Regions from separate parts of the Homo sapiens genome. Here region 2 is linked to region 1. The links are contacts of gene promoters, found by promoter capture Hi-C in blood cells and fetal thymus (Javierre and others, 2016). All regions are on one chromosome and are shown on one strand. Each heading gives the region's core, a stretch centred on a gene start or on the middle of the fragment in contact. The rest is flanking DNA. Distances are from core to core; before and after follow the strand shown. Region 1 holds the start of AP3B2 (adaptor related protein complex 3 subunit beta 2). Region 2 overlaps HOMER2 (homer scaffold protein 2).

Evidence for each region. The method cuts DNA at HindIII sites, captures the fragments that hold promoters and counts their contacts. A CHiCAGO score of 5 or more calls a contact.
Region 2: a fragment that was not itself captured here is called in contact with the fragment with the promoter of AP3B2 in region 1 in 2 of 17 cell types (non-activated CD4 T cells and naive CD4 T cells); the score reaches 5.2 in non-activated CD4 T cells.

Annotation. Positions count from the first base shown.
Region 1 is chr15:82,707,639-82,711,183 of GRCh38, reverse strand. AP3B2 (adaptor related protein complex 3 subunit beta 2) reads left to right here and starts at 1,309. Exons shown (of 27, transcript NM_001278512.2): 1 at 1,309-1,590. The coding sequence starts at 1,478. It also overlaps the pseudogene LOC338963. RefSeq lists silencers at 1,256-1,305, 1,526-1,785. The HindIII fragment of the contact is 2,125 bases long and covers 711-2,835 here.
Region 2 is chr15:82,915,549-82,918,842 of GRCh38, reverse strand. The region is part of intron 1 of HOMER2 (homer scaffold protein 2); the gene reads left to right. It overlaps LOC105370928 (a long non-coding RNA gene), which reads right to left. Exons shown (of 5, transcript XR_007064741.1): 3 at 1,477-1,528. Among named protein-coding and RNA genes, the nearest start is that of HOMER2, 36 kb to the left of the region's middle. The HindIII fragment of the contact is 5,158 bases long and covers 1-3,294 here.

The sequences.
Region 1 (3,545 bases), core at 60-2,559:
GGTGAGCGTGGCCCAGCTACCTGCACAGGACCCATCCCACCTCCTGAGCAGACTAGCCAAAGCGCCTTATAAACGCGCAACTGCAAAATCCAGGCCCTTCTCTTCCCACTCCCCACCCAGGCCAGTTTTCTCCAAATTCAAGATCCACTTTTCTCTGGCAGGCACAAAGCCACCGGAACCAAGCGGACCCACCCACTTGTCTAGGTTATCCCAACAGAACCTTCTCATTACCCCAATAGAACCTTACCCCAGTAGAATTACCCCCAATAGAACTTTTCTACTGAGCCAAGCTCCACCTTTCTGGGCCCCACTCCTTCCCAGGTAGGCCCGCCAATTCTGCCCATGGAGACTTCGGGATGCTAGTTACAGACCAAGACTCAGGCCTTAGGAACTCCTCCAGTCCCCATGCCCAGCTAAAAGACTCCAGCCACCTCAACTGATGCCCAACTGGATCCTACCTCTTCCCCCAGCCCAATTCACTACTTTCCATCGGATCCAAGCCTTCCTTCCTTGGGCCTAGGGGTCACTCGGGCTCGGGAGCTGAACTGGAGGGCTCACATGACTCAGGAGCCCTGGTGGTCACACCAGACCCTTCTCTTCCTTTTCAGGTGTCAATGGACGTGGACGTGTCCCCGGATTAAGCATGACCTTGGCCCTCCTGGGTGGACGTGGAGGCTTCAGAAAGATTCATTAAACTACTTTCCAAAGCTTAATTAGATGTTCACCGTCCTCTGTATCCTGTTTCCCATCTCTCTAAGCCCCCAAGGGCTCCTCGGAGCTCCCTGACCTTAATTCCTTAAATTCCGCCACCTCCAGGAAGCTCCTCGGCTTCCTGCTGCCAAGCCAGATTTTGTAGGAAAGGTGGGGCGGGAAAGGGAGCGTCCTTAGGTATCTGAGGCCGGTCCTCGGGTGCGGTGACCCCTTCCCGCTCTAGAACCCCCAGCCTGCGGGCACAGCCTTCTTTCCAGTTCCCGCTTTCCCTCCACGGCGTGGGTGAGCATCCGCGCGTGCGTCTGGGGAGAGCGGAGCCCCAGAGGCCCGTCCCGCCGAGGCCAGGTGGTCGGGGGTGGGGGCAGCTATTCCACATCCCCTGCAAGACGGTCCCAGCGTCCGTCCAGCAGACTCGCCCACCTTTAGATCTGGAGACGAGCCAAGTCGCTTTAAAGGGCAGAAGACGCCCTGAAGAGGGCATTTCCTAGGGATGGGCGGGGCCAGGCCCTGACGCACCGCCCCTGTCGCCTCCTCGCGGACACGCCCTCCGCTCGGCTGGCGCCGGTGCCTTTAAGACCTCAGCGCGCGGCCCTGATTGAGAAATCCGCGCGCAGCCTCCGCCGCTGCACACTGCAGCCTCTGCTGAACCCCTGCCGCGCCGCCGCCTTCGCCAGCCCGGACCGGACCGGCCCGCCTTCCCTTCCTCCGCTCCAGCCGGCCTCCGGCCCCGCAACCTCCTCCTCGGCGAAGTCTCCCTGGCCGCCCCATGTCGGCCGCCCCCGCCTACAGCGAAGACAAGGGCGGCTCCGCTGGCCCCGGGGAGCCCGAGTACGGCCACGACCCCGCGAGCGGCGGCATCTTCTCCTCCGACTACAAGCGGTGAGGGAGCCCGCCAGGAAGCTCGCGGGAGGGTTGGGGCCGGGGACCGGGCGAGGCGCGCGGGCACCATGGACAGCGCCCGGCCCCAGCGCCGGCCCCGCCCCGGCCGCGCCGACCGGAAGCCCGCCCGGCCCCCTCCTGCGGCCTGGAGCCCCGGCCCAGCGCGGGCAGCGCTGGCACCCCGGCTCCAGGGGCCGGCCTAGGACGCGGAGGGGGGCAGATAGGGGCTGGCGGGGGATGGGCCAGCTCAGTTTCGAGAGGAGAAACCCTCCGGTTCCAGGTGTTTCTCCGGTTTGCGGCGTTGCGTTAGGGGTTCCCTTCCTTTTTCGTGCTAGGCGGGTTGGCTTCCCAAAAATGTGGGGGAGGGGTCTGAGTCAGCGAACTTGAGCTTGAGCCTGGGGCCTCTTCAGGAAGGCGGGCCCTGGATGTACTTGCACAGCCTCCCAGCTTGGCCCTGCTGCAAATTCATTTCCCCTCCCTCTGGTCCCCATCTCCATCTGACCCTCACATCCCTGCTCCTGGCATTGCCCCTGTAGTTCAGCTCCACCTTCACACCCTCCCCCACCTTTGATTCGTTCGTTTGTTTCTTCATTTGTTTATTCGTAAATTCTGCAACAAGCATTTATGAAAAGCCAACTGTGTCGAGTCCTGAACTAGTCACGGAATACAACTGTGAACATGAGACCCTTCTTGTCCTCACGATGCTCTAGAGGGGAGCACAGATGAAGAAGCAGTCAGGGACAGTCGAGTGTAATGGGGGCAGTGGGAGCAGGGAGAGGACCTAGTCTCTGGCGCCGGAGAGAAGGAAGACAGGAGCGTGAGGTATGTTCCAGGCAGAGGAAAGGGCTTTCAGGAAGGTTGAGAGCCAGGCCACAATCTGTGTGAGCCACTGGACTGACCAGAAAAGAGGGTGGGGAGGACTCCTGAAGGATTCTAAGCAGGCGACATAATCAGATTTATATTTTAGAAGGACGTCAGGCTGCTGCATTGTGGAGAAGAGATTGGAGGTGGGCCAGATTGAACAAGAGACAAGGGAGGTGGGTCTTGAAGTTCACAGGCCTGGCATGATTGTGGCCTAGACCAGGGGAGAGGCAGAAGATTTGAGGCTGTGGAAGAGGTGGAAGCCTCAGACCTGATGATTAATTGGATATTGGGTGGGGGTTTAGAGGGACAGGGGGAGAAGATGAGGATTTTCACGCACGTCCATGTGAAGAGACCACCAAACAGGCTTTGAACAATAAAGCTTTTTAATCACTTGGGTGCAGGCCAGCTGAGTCCGAAAAAAGAGTCAGCGAAGGGAAATGGGGTGGGACCGTTTTACAGGATTTGGGTAGGTAGTGGAAAATTACAGTCAAAGGGGGTTGTTCTCTGGCGGTGGGGGGACACAAGGTGCTCAGTGGGGGAGCTTTTGAGCCAGGATGAGCCAGGAGAAGGAATTTCACAAGATAATGTCATCAGTTAAGGCAGGCACAGGCCATTTTCACTCTTCAGTTACTTCAGGCCATCTGGATGTATACGTGCAGGTCACAGGGGATATCATGGCTTAGCTTGGGCTCAGAGGCCTGACATTCCTGTCTTCTTTTATTAATAAGAAAAATAACATAAAATAGTGTTGAAGTGTTGGGGCAGCAAACATTTTGGCGGGGGGTGGTATGGAGAGATACTGCTTCTCCATAGCCTTGAAGGGCTGCTTCGAGCGGGATTGGGGTGGCGTGGGAACCTAGAGTGGGAGAGATTAAGCTGAAGGCAGATTCTGTGGTAAGGGATGATATTGTGGGGTTGTTAGAAGAAACATTTGTTGTATAGGATTATTGGTGATGGCCTGGATACGGTTTTGTATGAATTGAAAAACTAAATGGAATAAGAGAAGGAGAAAAACAGGTATTAAAGGACTAAGAATTGGGAGGACCCAGGACATCCAATTAGAGAGTGCCCAAGGAGGTTCAGCATAGCCC
Region 2 (3,294 bases), core at 353-2,852, 210 kb before region 1:
ACACCTGTGGCCCATTGGAGGACACTACTAGGTAGGAGGCTGACAGCCTGGGCTGCTGAGGAGAGGACAGCGAGGGAGATGTTCCTGCTGTGTGCTGGGTGTGAGATTCCCAGGTTTCTGCCATAGTGACAGATCCAGTGGTGTGAGTCACTGAAATAGGGGTGCAGGGAGAACAGCAGCAGGGAGGTAAGGTGCAAGCATGGGGTTCAGGAGAGACACCTGGGCTGGAGGTACACATTCAGGTGTCATCACATAGACATGTCCTCAAAGCTGTGGAGGTGAGTGTGGAGGGGAAACCCCATGGAGAAGAACTAAGGGAATGAGCCCCCACCAGACCACCCAGCCTCACCTGCTGAGGTGGGGCCTGATACTCAAGTAGGACACGGAAATGAGGCCCTGGTAGGAGAGAAATCTGAGCACTGTGGTATCCTGTCCCGTGGGCACTGTCCCAACATGATCACACTGTCCTGAGAATAGCATCTGCCTGCTCTAGAGGATCCCTGGCAAAGACCTCTGGCTGTGACACCTGAACCCCAGAGCACCGTGGCCTGAGTATCTGTACCCTCAGGTGCTGGAGTTTCTGCACCCAGTACTCATCCTGAGTCACTGCCAGTGAGTGCTGTCCGGGAGGGATGGCGTCTATATATCTCTGTGTCCCTAGGGTCAAGCGTTAGATTTTTGAAGGATTCTTATGAGAGTAGACACTGGGACTTTGATGAGTGTGTAATGCGGCTCGGGCAATGCTGCCTGCTTTTAGTCCCTAGTTAGCTCTGGGCCATTTGCTGCCCAGGTGTTCTCCATGATCCTGCTCCGAGCTGCTCCTCGGAGTAGATGGTCCAGCTGAGGAGCAGGCTGACCCAGTCCTGCAGGGCTCTAGTCTCAGCAGCAGTCTCGCCCCTAAACTATAAGGATTTGGGGCCCCCACACCTGTCTTAGACCAGATGAGGTTGATTTCACTTTTGCCCTTGACATTGTGGGAAATAATAGAGATGAGTTTTGCCTTGCTGGGCACATGTGATATAATTTTAAAGCCAAATAATCTAGTTTAGCAAGTATTTTGGGCCTACTGTGTGCATAGGCCTGCAGCATATGAAAGGCTGGTGGGAGGCACACTGTTTCCAAGTGTTTACAGCAAGCTCACCATGGCTGTAGAACAATGGGTTTATTCTTCTTAACTAGTTTTCCTTCCTTGAAGACTTCCCTTAAATGCCTCAATCTCATAATATTCTAAACACGTAACTTCTCCCTCTCACATACACTGGGGTTTGCTGCTGTCCCCACGGGGGCGGATCTTCCCCGCTTGCACCTTCCTGCATGTGTCTTTGGTATCATGTGCCATGTCCTTGGGTGCGAAGGAAAGGGCTGTTCCAGCAGTTCCCCCTGGGGCCCTGGGAGAGGAGGGACAGGTGCCTGTGCTATTTCCCCAAGATAAAGGGCAGCTGTTCTGCTCTCAGCCTGCTCTAGCTGGTAACATACCTTCACTTGTGGCTGGGATCCTATCAATTCTTGAGGCCACCTTGGTGATATCCTGCAGATTAGAAAACCGTTTGGCGGTTATATGTGACTTCTTAGAGCAATGAAGAAATGAGGAAATAAATTACTTTTTCATAAATTCTGCCTAGAAGGGCAAACTCTTTCAATAATGGGATTTATAGGGAAAATGCAAATCAGAAATGGGTACTTCTTGTTCAGTGGGTTAACTGTGAGTTAGAAAAAAACAAAAATTGTAAAATGAGGGCTCTGGGCCGGGCACGGTGGCTCACACCTGTAATCCCAGCACTTTGAGAGGCCGAGGCAGGCGAATCACAAGGTCAAGAGATCGAGGCCATCCTGGCCAACATGGTGAAACCCCGTCTCTACTAAAAATACAAAAATTAGCTGGACATTGTGGCGTGCGCCTGTAATCCCAGCTACTCGGGAGGTTGAGGCAGGATAATCACTTGAACCCAGGGGGTGGAGGTTGCAGTAACCCGAGATCGCGCCATTGCACTCCAGTCTGGCAACAGAGTGAGACTCTGTCTCAAAAAAAAAAAAATGAGGGCTCTGGCTCTTTCCAGAGCAGCCCATACTTTGGGCCAAGCAGCTGGCAACTCAGGGCTCAGCTCTCTTAGTGCCAAGTCCCCATCCAGCTTGTGTCATCTTTGTCCCTTTGCCATCTAAAGCTCTTGAGAGTACTTAACCTCTCCCCCTCTGCCGACCCTGGTGTTTGGAGCACCCTCACACCTGTTCTGTTTGGTCCAGCGGGGTCTGCACTTGACCTTTAGATTGGGAAGCAAGAGACACTGGCCTCTCTCTTGCCTGGATAAGACTTCTCATTGCAGCAAGGCTGTCCTCACGTCACATGCATGCAATAGACCTATTCTCAATCCTGTCGGAAGACCCTTGCTTTAGGGTCACTGTTTTGTACCTCATCCCATGTACACACAGGTGCTCAGACAGACAGGTACCAATCTCCCTGGATTCTGAGGCCATGGCTGTCTTGTTTCCTGGGATATTCTTGGCACCCAGCACAGCTCTCCTTTATAGTTGTGGATTAAATATTTGTTAAGTTAATATATATTTGTACACATATTTATAAGAATGGGAGCAGAGGATGGTGCTGTTTAGCAACTCGCTCTTTTCACTCCACGCTCCGAGTGTTGGCTGAATATTTTTGGAATTCTGGAACCCATGAATTCTTTGTTTCCCCCCATTATTTTGTTTCCTCTGAGGCAAGAAGTTTCAAGTGACACTCAAGTCCTTCAAGGTCTGGCTAATTCTATTTGGTAGGGAAGGGGACAGAAAGTTGTAGCTAGGCTGGGACTCAGCAACACTGGGTGGTCTCTTTATTTTGTAACAGTGAAGTATAGAATCAATCAGAATACATAAAGAAAAGAAGACCATCTTTCCATGTGAGCAAATATTTACTTATAATTTTGAAAGGCCAAGTGGTACTTTTCGCACGGATATATCATACTTAATTTAACCAATCCTCAACTTTGGGGCATTTAGTTTATTTACAGGTTTATTTTTGTTTGTTTGTTTTTGTTTTTAATAAGCAGCTCTTCAGTGACTATCCTTTGGCATAAGTATCTTTGTATATCCTTATTTATCACTTTTGAATAGATTCCAAGAAGTGGAGTTGTTGGGTTGAGGAGTATGCAGTTCTAAGGCTTTATTTATCTATTTATTTGAGACAGGGCAGCTCACTGCAGCCTTGAACTCCCAGGCCCAGGCAATCCTCCCACGTTAGCCTCCCAGCAGCTGGGACTACAGGCACGTGCCACCATGCCCGGCAAATTTTGTTTGTTTGTT